2 separate regions of the Homo sapiens genome follow, and region 1 is linked to region 2. The links are contacts of gene promoters, found by promoter capture Hi-C in human tissues and cell types (Jung and others, 2019). All regions are on one chromosome and are shown on one strand. The core of a region is centred on a gene start or on the middle of the fragment in contact, and the rest is flanking DNA. Distances in the headings are between cores, read along the strand shown.

What was found. The method cuts DNA at HindIII sites, captures the fragments that hold promoters and counts their contacts. A contact is called where the count stands out against the background at its distance.
Region 1: a contact is called between a fragment that was not itself captured here and the fragment with the promoter of ST6GALNAC1 in region 2, in 2 of the 25 tissues and cell types used here (dorsolateral prefrontal cortex and thymus).

Annotation. Positions count from the first base shown.
Region 1 is chr17:76,426,037-76,432,515 of GRCh38, reverse strand. The region is part of intron 1 of UBE2O (ubiquitin conjugating enzyme E2 O); the gene reads left to right. It also overlaps the pseudogene RPL7P49. Among named protein-coding and RNA genes, the nearest start is that of UBE2O, 24 kb to the left of the region's middle. The HindIII fragment of the contact is 3,437 bases long and covers 1,977-5,413 here.
Region 2 is chr17:76,640,989-76,647,415 of GRCh38, reverse strand. ST6GALNAC1 (ST6 N-acetylgalactosaminide alpha-2,6-sialyltransferase 1) reads left to right here and starts at 3,659. Exons shown (of 9, transcript NM_018414.5): 1 at 3,659-3,908. The coding sequence starts at 3,778. The HindIII fragment of the contact is 5,915 bases long and covers 2,289-6,427 here.

The DNA.
Region 1 (6,479 bases), core at 2,446-4,945, 210 kb after region 2:
TTAAATCTGGGGCTCCACAAGCATCCTAGGATGAGAAAGGGGTTGCTAAATAGGTTTTCTTGGACAGTGGGCAAGCTTTCAAATATTTACCAGTCACATGTACCGTGGCATGCTGGGTATAAGTCTTTCTAAGGCGGAGACCATACAATCTATTTCTTTTGAGTCTCTCTCATAGTACAATTATAGTACTTCTTACACAGTGGGATGATGAAATATTTGTGGATTGACAGGAACATACTTTGATAACTGAGTCCTTTCCGTAGCAGTTTGACGGGTCTAAGACATGGTTGTGCCGAAATGTGCATGAGAGTGTCGGGTGTGTGTGCCTGGCGATAGGGGGCCTTGAGTTTCCAAAGGCTCTTGGCTGCTGCTGCCTCACAGATTCTCCATGCTGTGTGGCTGTCTGCTGAGGGGCACATGTGCTGCTATTTATGTTTGGTGACTTTCTCAGTGATTGTTTTTAGTTTAGCCTTTTAAGAATCTAATCTAATTTTGTGAGTGTGTAAAGTGTGGATTTATCCATGCCTGCTGCGTGACACTGACAGGGAGTGTCTTCCACCCTAAGCCTGGATCAGTTCTGACTGTCATGGTTAGATCACAGCAATCCATGGGACTTAAACTTTCTTTAACATTTGAAACAAAAAGCCATTTGTAGGAGCGGATGTGTGGCCCTTTCAGGTGTCTGGGGGAGTTTCTAATGGAGCTGTTCTTTTTAAAATTTTTTATTCTTAATTTTACTTTTTCATAGAGATGGAGTCTTGGCCCAGGCTGGTCCCAAACTCCTGGTTTCAAGCAGTCCCCCCCGCTGGGCTTCCCAGCTCCTGGGATTACAGGTGTGAGCCACAGTGTCTGGCCCTAATAGTCTTTCTTTTCCCTACCCACTATTTCACATCTCAGAATAGCAACATGAGGAGAGTCCATCAAAATGAATTGGTGAGTAGGTGAATGTCTGAACTAAGGATGGCTAATTTTTGAATTTGTGATTTCCTGGGTTTTGTTGACTTTTTTTTTGAGACAGAGCACCCTGTCGCCCAGGCTGGAGTGCGATCTCGGCTCACTGCAACCTGTGCCTCCCGGATTCAAGCAATTCTCCTGCCTCAGCCTCCCAAGTAGCTGGGATTACAGGCGTGCACCAGCACGCCCAGCTAATTTTTTTTTGTATCTTTAGTAGAGGCGGGATTTCACCATGTTGGCCAGGCTGCTCTTGAGCTCCTGACTGCAAGTGATCTACCCACCTCAGCCTCCCAAAGTGCTGGGATTACAGGCATGAGCCACCGTGGCCGGCTTTTGTTGACTTATTACTTCTCCTTCATCTTCAGATCTAGTTGTATATAAGTACTTTGCAAAACAAAGATTAAAAACCTCCGGTTGCCTCTTTTTTGGCTGGAACCATGGAGGGTGTCGAAGAGAAGCAGCAGCTTCCTGTTGTGCCAGAAACCCTTGGGAAAAAGCAAAGGAATTTCACAGAACTAAAGATCAAGCACCTGAATAAGAAGTTTGCCCAAAAGATGCTTCAAAAGGCAGGGAGGAAACTTATGCACGAAGAAGTGAAGCACTACCACAAGGAATCTAGGCAGATGTACAGAACTGAAATTTGAAAGGCTAGGATGGCAAGAAAAGCTGGCAACTTTTTTGTGCCTGCAGAACCCGAATTGGCATTTGTCATCAGGGTCAGAGGTATCAGTGGTGTGAGCCCAAAGGGCCAAAAGATGTTGCAGCTTCTTTGCCTTTGTCAGATCTTTAATGGAACCTTTGTGAAGTTCAGCAGACCTTCAGTTAACATGCTGAGGATTGTGAAACCATGTATTACAAGGGGAACCCAAATCTGAAATCAGTAAATAAACTCATCTACAAGCATGGCCGTGGCAAAATCAATAAGAAGCGAATTGCTTTGACAGATAACACTTTGATTGATCAGTCTCATGGTCAATATGGCATCATCTGCATCGAGGATCTGATTCATGAGCTCTATACTGTGGCCCTTCAAGTTATCCTCTCCACAAAGTGGAATGAAGAAAAAGACCACCCATTTTGTAGAAAATGGAGCTGCTGCCAACAGGGAGGGCCAGATCCACAGGCTTCTTAGAAGAATGAACTGCGGTGTCTACCGTGATTATTTTTCTAATCTGGTCAGTTAATAAATAGTACCTGCTCTCAAATTGAAAAAAAAAATCTTCGGTTAGCATACTTTAGGTAAACATGGTAGATTGAACATATTCATTTAAATCTACTTCCCCTAGAAACTCTGCTAAAATAACAGCAAAATAATTGTTTTTAGATGTATAAACCCACAAGGACACAGAATGGGAGAGAAAACAATAACAAAAGATCTCCAATTTCTAGAAGGTGGAAGGCAAACAGAAGACTGAGCAGAGCAGAGGCTGAAATGTTGGTACCTGCGGAAAAACACCAAGGAAAAGCACTTTAGAAAGCATCAGGAATTGGAGGCAATTGGTGGCACTCAAGGTGGGAATAAGGTTTGGGCCTAAAAGCAGAGGGATTATGATTAGTTGACAGTCTGTATAGGGAGGGATGAAACTTCCCAAGTCATCTCTTTGAATTCTGCAAACCAGAAAATACTCAATCCCCTTTGCTGGCGAGTGAGAGAGCAGAGGCTTATGCACCAGATTGAGGTACCTTGGGCAGAGCAAGGGGCAGGGTAACGCTGGACTGAAAGAGGGATTCATGAACGTCTGCACACTAAAAGAGCAAATCCCAGCCATGCCCCTGCCTGCTCCTGGAGTGCTGAGGCCAGGCATGAGGCATGGCATTGGATTCCAGTCTGGAAAAAATGAGCATGTCAGCAACAAGACCTGCCATTGCCAGTATGTAGTGGCTCCTCACAGCAGTGGCCAGCTTTCTACTCCATCTAATGTGGTCCTCACCTGTCCAGAGCCTTGCTTATGTTCACAGGGTTTCTATCATCTTTTTATCACCTCAACTTTTTTAACTTTTTTTTTTTTTTTTTTTTTTTGAGACAGAGTCTCACTCTGTCACCCAGGCTGGAGTACAGTGGTGTAATCTTGGCTCACTGCAACCTCTGCCTCCCAGGCTGAAGCACTTCTCCCACCTCAGCCTCCCAAGTAGCTGGGATTACAGCCATGCGCCACCACTCCTGGCTAATTTGTGTGTTTTTTGTCAAGATGGGGTTTTGCCATGTTGCCTAGGCAGGTTTCAAACTCCTGAGCTCAAGTGATCTGCCCACCTCAGCCTCACAAAGTGCTGGGATCACAGGCATGAGCCACCATCCCCAGCCCAACTTTTTATTTTGAAATAATTATAGATGCATAGGAAGTTGCAAACATAGTAGAGGGCTGGCTGGACGCGGTGGCTCATGCCTGTAATCCCAGCACTTTGGGAGGCCGAGGCGGGCAGATCACGAGGTCAGGAGTTCGAGACCAGCCTGGCCAACATGGTTAAACCCCGTCTCTACTAAAAATACAAAAATTAGCCGGGCATGGTGGCATGCGCCCGTAATCCCAGCTACTCGGGAGGCTGAGGCAGGAGAATTGCTTGAACCCAGGAGGCAGAGGTTGCAGTGAACCAAGATCATGCCACTGCACTCCAGCCTGGGCGACAGAGCAAGACTCCATCTCAAAAAAAAAAAAAAAAATAGTAGAGGGGTCCCCTCTACCCTTCATGCAGTTTCCCTTGATGGTCATGTCTTATATAATCACAGACAATATGAAAATCAGGGAATTGACATGGGTACACAATATGTGCATACAGTTTCACACCCTTTATCACATCTGTGGATTCATGTAACCACATGTAACAGCAGTCAAGATACACAACTCTTCCATCACCACAAAGATCTCTTATTGCCTCACTTTTAAATAGGAATGGATGCCAAGAATAACTGGATATGTTCAGAAAGCTTCCAGTATGGAAGGTAGAGGCCAGAGAAAGCAAAGAGAAAAATGTATCTCCGAGGAATCAGAGCTGATTCAGGTAGGAGAAAGCCTTAAAGCACATGGCAAATATACTCAGAAAGAAGAGCCAATATTTTATCCATGAAATAAAAAGTTACTATAAAAATCAGAACAAGAAAGAGTTCTCGGAAATTAAAACCATTACTTTTTCTTTGAAGTTGACGAAGGCTCCCAGGAAACAGATTAAAAACGTCTGACATCTAGGAAGTCTATAAAGAGAGAAAGGGAAAATTAAGGACCATAATGTATCAGAGAAACAAGAATTATTTCAGAATGGACAGTCATAAGTTTCAAAAATGGTAAATGGAAAATGTCCTGTGGCACATTGTGTGATTCCAGAGCACTGGGCATAAAGCTTCCGAAGAGCAAAAACGGGTCACATACAAAAGACTGGGAATGAAGATGGATTGGATTTTTCAACCTCATTGGAAGCCAGAAGACAATGGGGTGGATTTCCTGTTTCAGTGACATGGTAGCTTGAGCTAAAGTTAGAACCGCTCCCATTACAATCACTTAAAATGCTATATAAGCTATAACAACAGAATAAGAAAGAAAAACAGAGAACCGAAAGCAAAGCAGGAATATAAAGCCAGAGCAGAGTAGGCAGCTCTGGGGAGGGGCAAGGTGGGTTCATTGGACCCTGAAATCGACCCTAACAATAATAGAGGTTTGGATTTGCATGAACACGTGAAGCATGGAGTTGAAACAGAAATCCCCTCAAAAGAGCCATTCCCAGGTAAAAGGGATGCAAGAAAATTTCCCCCATGGGATCAGAGAAATGTCAAGGGAGCTGATCATTGCCCCACACTCTGGATTGTGTTGGAGGAAGTCTTCTGTGAACAGTGGAAAACATCCAAGTTCTAAGTCTGTGTTTATAACATCTACATGTTGCAGGAATGCCCGAGCTGGCACCAGACCAGCCAGCAGACTGGCGATACCCCTGAAGCTTCTTGCTTGCAGAACAAAGGCAGAACTTTTCTAGAGTGACCCTTGCACAGTACAGGCCTTTTGGAATCCTAGGATGCCCACAGATGATGAGCTTGTTCTAGGAAATTACCAAGCATGTAGAAATTAGAACATGAGTCAGCGATCACAACAAACACAAGATTCTCAACATGAGAATTCAAATAATAGAAGAGATTATAATAGAAATGTCTAAAGTGATTGAAGGGCTAAAAGAAGAAATAGATGTCAAAGGAAAGAATAAGACAGAATACATCTTAAAAGGGATTATTTTTTAAAGAATCAAATAAAGCCTCTAGAGTGAAAACATTGAGTTAAAACCCCAGTGGAAATGTTAAACAGCAAATAGCATAAATTCTCAAGAGAGAACTATGGGAACTGGAAAACAGATCTGCAGAAGTTAGTTAGAATTCTGCAGAGATAAAAGAGATGCTTGTGAGGAAGAGACATTACAAACATGGATGGTGGTATGAGGGCCCAGTGGGAAAAATAGCATCCTAAAGGCAGCTTGAGAAGAAAGGCAGATTACTCCCCAGGTTCAACAGTGAAACTCAGGAAATGCCAAGTAGCAACAGTAGAGGCCATAAGGAAGTAAAATCTTCAGTGTGCTAAGGAAAATCAGTTGTTGGCTTAGTTTTCAGCAACCAGCTTAAATTATCGTTCAATAATGGGAACAAATAAGGACATTTTCACAGAAAAAAAAAAAAGTTGTATTTACTAAGAGACCTTCGCTGTACTTCGGGAAGAAGGAAGTAAGGAGAAAGGAGAAATGCGGACAGTAATGGTATCCAGAGGCGTTGGGAAGTGCAGGTAAATCTGAATAAGCATTCGCTTCTGAAAGTGATCGTCACTAATTTGGAGAGGATTAAAAACCAAAGTCCCAACAAAAAATGGAAATCAGTGAGGGGGTGATTTGAATGAACACACTCTTAAGTTCTTTGAACTGTTTGGGAAGTGTAGGAGGGATATTGATTGACTTCAAACTTTCTGAGTCAAGTAGACATGTTCCAATTTTAAGGGTAACCACCAAAAGAATAGAAATAGTGTTTAAAGCTTTCAAACTCACAGAGGGTAAAAATATGGAATTTTAAAACTAGGTCATTTGTCTAAAAGAAAGAGAGCAAAGAAAAAATATGGTAGCCAGAAAGCCCTAAAGGTAGTAGAAATAAATCCACATGGATCACAATGAAAGTAAACAATTATATGTGCCAGTTAAGACAGGTACTCAGACTGGAAGACAGCAGAGCAAATCCTGCAACATTCTGAGAGAATTCCGTATCCAGCCCAACTACGTCAAGTAGAGTAGAAAAAAGTTCTTTTGGCTGGGCATGGTGGTTCACGCCTGTAATCCCAGCACTTTGGGAAGCCAAGACAGGAGGATCGCTTGAGCCCCGTTCGAGACCAGCCTGGGAAACATGGCAAAACCCTGTCTCTACAAAAAAATACAAAAATTAGCCAAGTGTGGTGTTGTGCATCTGTAGTCCCAGCTACTCAGGAGGCTGAAGTAAGAGGATCATTTGAGCCCAGGAGGTTGAGGCTGCAGTGAACCATGATCACACCACTACACTCCAGCCTAGGTGACAG
Region 2 (6,427 bases), core at 2,410-4,909:
GACTCCAAAGCAGCTATTATGAATATGTTTTAAAAATCGAAGTAGACCAGGCATAGTGGTTCACGCCTATAATCTCAATGCTTCAGGAGTTCTAGGCAGGAGGATTGCTTAAGGCCAGGAGTTCAAGACCAGCCTGGGCAACACAGTGAAAACCTGTTTCTACAAAATATATATATATTTAAATAAATTAGCCTGTAGTCTTAACTACTAGGGAGGTTGGGGAGAAAGGATCACGTGAGGCCAGGAGTTCAAGGTTACAGTGACCTATCATCACGCCACTGCACTTCAGCCTGAGTGACAGAGCAAGACCTTGTCTCCAAAAAAAAAAGTTTTTAATGTAAACCATGTTTAAAGAATTGAAGATTAAAGAAAGGCATGATAATAATGACTCATGAAATAGAGAATGTTCACTAAAAAGATAGAACAAAATTATTAAGTAAATGAAAATTCTGAAGTTGAAAAATAAATAATCAAAATGAAAAATTCACTAGAGGGGCTCAATAGTAGATTTGAGTTGGCAGAAGGAAGAATCAGCCAACATGAAGACAGATTAATACAGATGAAGAACACTACGAAAAATAATAAGTAAAAATGAACAGAGCCTCAGAGAAATGTAGAATACTGTTAAGCACACCAACATACTCATCCTAGGAAAGAATGCTCAAGAGGCAGAGATAGAGAGAAAAAAATATTCAAACAAATAATACCTGAAAACTTCTGAAATTTGTTGAAAAACACTAATACATAGATCCCAGAAACTCCAAGTGAATAAATGCAGGAAGACCCACACAGACACATCATAGTCAAAATACTGAAAGCCAAAGATAGAGAAAAATCTTGAAAGAAGCAAATGAAAAACAATCTAAATTACTTTGTGCTCATGCACTTCTCTTTTGAACTGGTTATTATATCTGCCTGGTCCTCTCATGAGTAGAATCAAATCTTTAGCACATTTTTATGTCTTCTATCTATTTGAGTAATGATTTTACCTTTTACTGAAAATTATCTTTTAACAACTCTTATCTGCATGTAAGTTCTCACATGTCCCATCAGCTGATGTATACTAAAGTTCAAAGACTCAAGCTCAAAGCTTTAGTTTAAAAAGGAGAAAAAGTTTTTGCCATTGAGCTTAAGAGAATAAAATAAAATAAAACAATAAAAAGGAGAGAAAGGTAGATCTTACCAAACACAAAATTGTGACGATGTTTAAAAAATAATTGGCAGCTGGGCGTGGCGGCTCACATGAAGTGCTCCCAGCACTTTGGGAGGCTGAAGTGGGGTCGCTTGAGACCAGGAGATCAAGACCAGACTGCACGACATAGCAAGACCCCCCCATCTCTACAAAAAAAATTTGCCAGGTGTGGTGGCACCCACCTGTAATCCCAGCTACTTTGGAGGGAGGCTGCCGCAGGAGGATCTTGTGAGCTCAGGAATTCAAGGCTTCAGTGAACTATGATTGCACCACTGCACTCCAGCCTGGATGACAGAAAGAGGCCTTGTCTCAAAAAGCAAAAACAAAATAATTGGAAAGTCAATTTCTCCTAAAACACACACTTCTCTGGATCCCACATTCTGCCCAGGCACATGCTACAGCAGCAGTGGGCTGGAACCTGAGAACCAGGAAACTAGGACTCTGGATTATCCTGCCACACCAGTTGGCCACAAGGTCTTCAAGTTCAACCTGCCTCTAATGTGGCGAGAGGGACAGATTGTCCACAGTAGCTCAGCTTGCACCCAGGAGCTCAGCTGGATCTCCATGCCCTGCGGAAGGCAGCGAGCACTGACAGCCAGTGCCTTCTTCAGAACACAGGGCACGATGAAAGAGATACTCTATTTAGTCACACTAGTACTGTGGGTAAGAACATGCCTTTTCACTGTGCACTTATTTGCATAGCGTTGCAAGCAGGCACCAGGATACAGGAATATAATTGTACATGTCAAGTGCATAAAGGAACTCAGGATAAGGGGCCAGTTAGGACAAAGAGTTATGACTTGATACAGATCAATTCAGAAAATGTTTATAGAGTTAACATATGAGCATCTGTAGGTTAGGCACGGTGAGAGAGAAAGAGAGAGGTTGAGTCAGTACTAACAGAGATGTTTCTCCTTGCCACCATGACTTGAAACAGTGCTGTGAGTTGCAGTGTACAGTAGGGGATAAAGGAAACCATCAGTCGTCTGTATTACCCTCAGCTGCTCAGACGTATGTTCCTGCCTTTTTCGTCCTCCTTGAGGAAGGTGGTTTAATCATTTATCGGTGCGTGCCATGGGTGAAGGCCAAGAGCCTTGTGTACAGAACTGAAAACTGTACGTTAGGAGAAATGCCCACCGCCAGGTGTGAACAGTGAGCCCAGGCTCCAAAACCTCTCCCACAGTTCAACACCCTGGACAATATTTTTATAAAATTACTAACTCACAGTACTTTATGGAGGGCTGCTTCTCTGAATTTTTAAAGTTTTCTACAAATGGTCTTGATGTTTTTCCTCTGAGGTGTACTTTTTTTTCCCAAGAATTATGTGGGTTTTGTTTTGCATTGCTTTGATCAAGGTAGAGTTAATGATTTCTCGTAGGTGCTACTAAGCAGTGGATACGAATGCAATCGGCCAGGCACGGTGGCTCACACCTGTAATCCTAGCACTTTGGGAGGCCGAGGCAGGTGGATCATGAGGTCAGAAGATCGAGACCATCCTGGCCAGCATGGTGAAACCCCGTCTCCACTAAAAATACAAAAATTAGCCGGGTGTGGTGTTGGGTGCCTGTAGTCCCAGCTACTCAGGAGGCTGAGGCAGGAGAATCACTTGAGCCCGGGAGGCGGAGGTTGCAGTGAGCCAAGATTGCGCCACTGCACTCCAGGCTGGCAACGAGTGAGAATGTCTCAAAAAAAAAAAAGAAAGAAAAATGCAATCATGGCTGGGCATGGTGGCCGATGCCTGTAATCCCAGCACTTTGGGAGGCTGAGGTGGGAGGATCACTTAAGTCCAGGAGTTTGAGACCAGCCTGGGCAACATACTGAGACCCATCTCTATTTCTTAAAAAAAGAATGCAATCTCTAGGTCAGTTGGATCTGGACCCCAAGCCAGTGGCTCACCATGTGCTCTTGGGCTGGCAGCTTGTTCTTGGAGGCCATTTCCTCCTCTGTCAAATGGAGGTGATGACAGTACCCAGCCCCTAGAGTGGCTGTGAGGGTTCCATGAGTGCCTGTGAAGACTCCCCACTGCCCAGCTCAGAGTGAGCCCTCATACGTGCTGGTCATTGTTGTAATGGTCATGATTTCAGAAGAGAAACAGAGAAGGTTGAGCTAAAGTGTTGAACATGTGTGTTGGGTGCCTACCACAAACAAAGCCCTGTGCATGGTGGCCTCAAGGTGTCTTCATGATAATCCCAAAAGGAAGATAACTGCTTTTTTCCATTTATATGGCGGCAGATGGGTTAAGTAACCTGACCAAGATGAGACTGCATATAATGTGGTTATATTTCTCATAAAGCTTGACTTTCAGATATTGGCTTCAAAGACAAAAAAGGAAGGTAAACATGTTTGAACACAAGGAGTTTCCCTTCCTTTAAGCCACGCCAGCTTATAAGCCTTCATACAGCAGTGAAGGCGGTTCCTCCCTTCCCAGGCAGAGACTGATAAACTCAGCACTTGCCGGAGTGGCTCATTGTTAAGACAAAGGGTGTGCACTTCCTGGCCAGGAAACCTGAGCGGTGAGACTCCCAGCTGCCTACATCAAGGCCCCAGGACATGCAGAACCTTCCTCTAGAACCCGACCCACCACCATGAGGTCCTGCCTGTGGAGATGCAGGCACCTGAGCCAAGGCGTCCAGTGGTCCTTGCTTCTGGCTGTCCTGGTCTTCTTTCTCTTCGCCTTGCCCTCTTTTATTAAGGAGCCTCAAACAAAGCCTTCCAGGTAAGATTCTTGTCCTTTCCACTCCTCATATTTCATTCATTTGAGGAAACAGAAAAATGATAGCCCAGGGAGGACTGGGGAAGTCTGAGCCACCTGTGTGTCCACATGGGAGTGTCAGGGGTCAGGAGTGTTCTCAAGAAGCACTGGGAAGAAAGACTAATGGGAAGACTTGCAGGGAACAGAAAGGGTGGCAGTGGGCAACCAAGACGCATGGGATGGACATGTCCAGATACTGTGGGACACGTACAGGAGTTTGAGAACTGATGGGTTAGGTCTGCAGAGTGCAGACAGAAGACATGACTGCTTTCCCCTCTGGGACTGTGAGTAATGGCAGCAGCACTGGGTTAGTTCTTACATGCCATTCTCTACGTCCTGAAGCGAAAGAGCCATGCTGTGTGTTCCACTTGTTTCAGACCCGGACTCACCCTAAGTTTGTCAGTTAAAATGGAGAGCCTCCCTCTTAGGGATGCAGTTTCAATTGTGGACGCCAAGTTAATCCTTCAAAAATACCTTCTAGACCATTTTTCTTAGAAAATACACACATCTCCAGCAGTGAGAGGCCCTCTTTTTTTTTTTTTTTTTTTTGAGACGGAGTCTCACTCTGCTGCCGGAGTGCTGGAGTGCAGTGGCATGATCTCAGCTCACTGCAACCTCCACCTCCCAGGTTCAAGCCTCAGCTTCCTGAGTAGCTGGGACTACAGGCGCATGCCACCAGGCCTGGCTAAGTTTTTGTATTTTTAGTAGAGACAGGTTTTCACCATGTTGGCCAGGCTGGTCTTGAACTCCCGACCTCAAGTGATCTACCCACCTCGGCCTCCCAAAGCGCTGGGATGACAGGCGTGAGCCACTGCGCCCAGCCAATAATTTCATTTCACTGTTCCTAAACGTTGAAAGTAATGCAGGTTCTCATAGAGTTAAAAAAAATACAGAAAGGTGAAGCAGGAAGTGAGGGTCTCCCTATTATACCTCCACCTCTATCCACTCTTCAAGGTGACCACTCTTGACACTTGAGGGTACACGGAATTCTATTATTATGTAGCTAACACTGCTATAGTATTTACTATGAGCTAGCCCCTATTCTAAGTGCTTGATATACGTTAACTCACTAATTCTCATTATTAGGACACTGAGATACACAGAACTGAAGTGATTCTCCCAAGGTCACCCTGCTAGTATGCGGCAGGGCCAAGATTCAAACCCAGGCATTTTGGTGCCATACCCTGTGCTCATTACCTTTATGCTATACAAGCCCGATAGATAGATGATAGATAGATAGATAGATAGATAGGCAGATAGAGAGAGAGAGAGATAGAGAGATAGGCAGATAGATGGACAGATAGATGGATAGATAGATGGAGATATAGATATCTATATATAGTATGGAGATATATATACAATATATACGCTATATATTGATATACTATATGTCAATATGTAGCATGAGAGATATGTATATATAGATATATTGTATATATAGATATAGATATATACACATATATATCATATAGATTTACATATATATGCACAAGAGAGCTTATATATATATCTCATATATACGTATATATACATATATATGTATCTCATGCTACATATTGTTCCACAGGTTGACCTTGTAAGTCACACTATATCATGGACATCTTTCCATGTCGGGACATACAGGTCCACTCCCTTCTTTCAACAGTTGCTTAGCATTCCACAGGGTAGGTACTGTTTACTTAACCAACCCCTATCAAGTTTCTCACATACCTTTGAGCACTTGCGTAAGTGATTTCCGGGTAGATTTCTTGAAGTGGAATTGCCAAGACAATGCATATGTTTACATGAAATGTCAGTGGACACCATTGAATTGTTGTCTCAGAATGCTACACTGACAGGTGCAAGTTTACTTTACCTCCCAGGACCACACTGGCTTTCATTAGGGTTTTGAAGTCTTAATCATCAGATAGGTGAAAGTGTTTCTCTTTTTAATTTGCATTTCTCAGATCACTGATGTATTGAGAATCTTAACTTTCTTAGTCATTTGTACTTTTCTATGAATGACCTGTTCATATCTTTTCTTCCTTTTTATTATTTTTTTCATATTTGTAGGAGCTTTTTGTATATTAGGGATATTAACCTTTTTATCATATATGTTACAATACTTCTAAATGCAGTGGGATAATTTAGGAATCAGAGAGACTGAAGGGTTGAGGAGGATTTATTATCATTATTAAGGTGCACTGGCCCAGTCACATTAACATCCAAAAAAACTGAGCCCCGAACAAAGCGTCAGGTTACCTTTTAAGCATTTCGTGGGGCAGGGGGAGATCTGTGCAGGGGGAAGCATATTACAGAAGCAAGAAACAAAGACAGTTACTCAATTGAGACATGCATTACATCATTTCTTACTTTTCAAGGAAAAATATGTTTTACGACTTGAGTTTATCTGCCTAGTGACCTTGCAGCTACACAGCTGCAGAGACAAGGTCTTCACAATGCCTGGGAAAGGGAGAGATAAGGCTCACTGGCCACAGACAGAA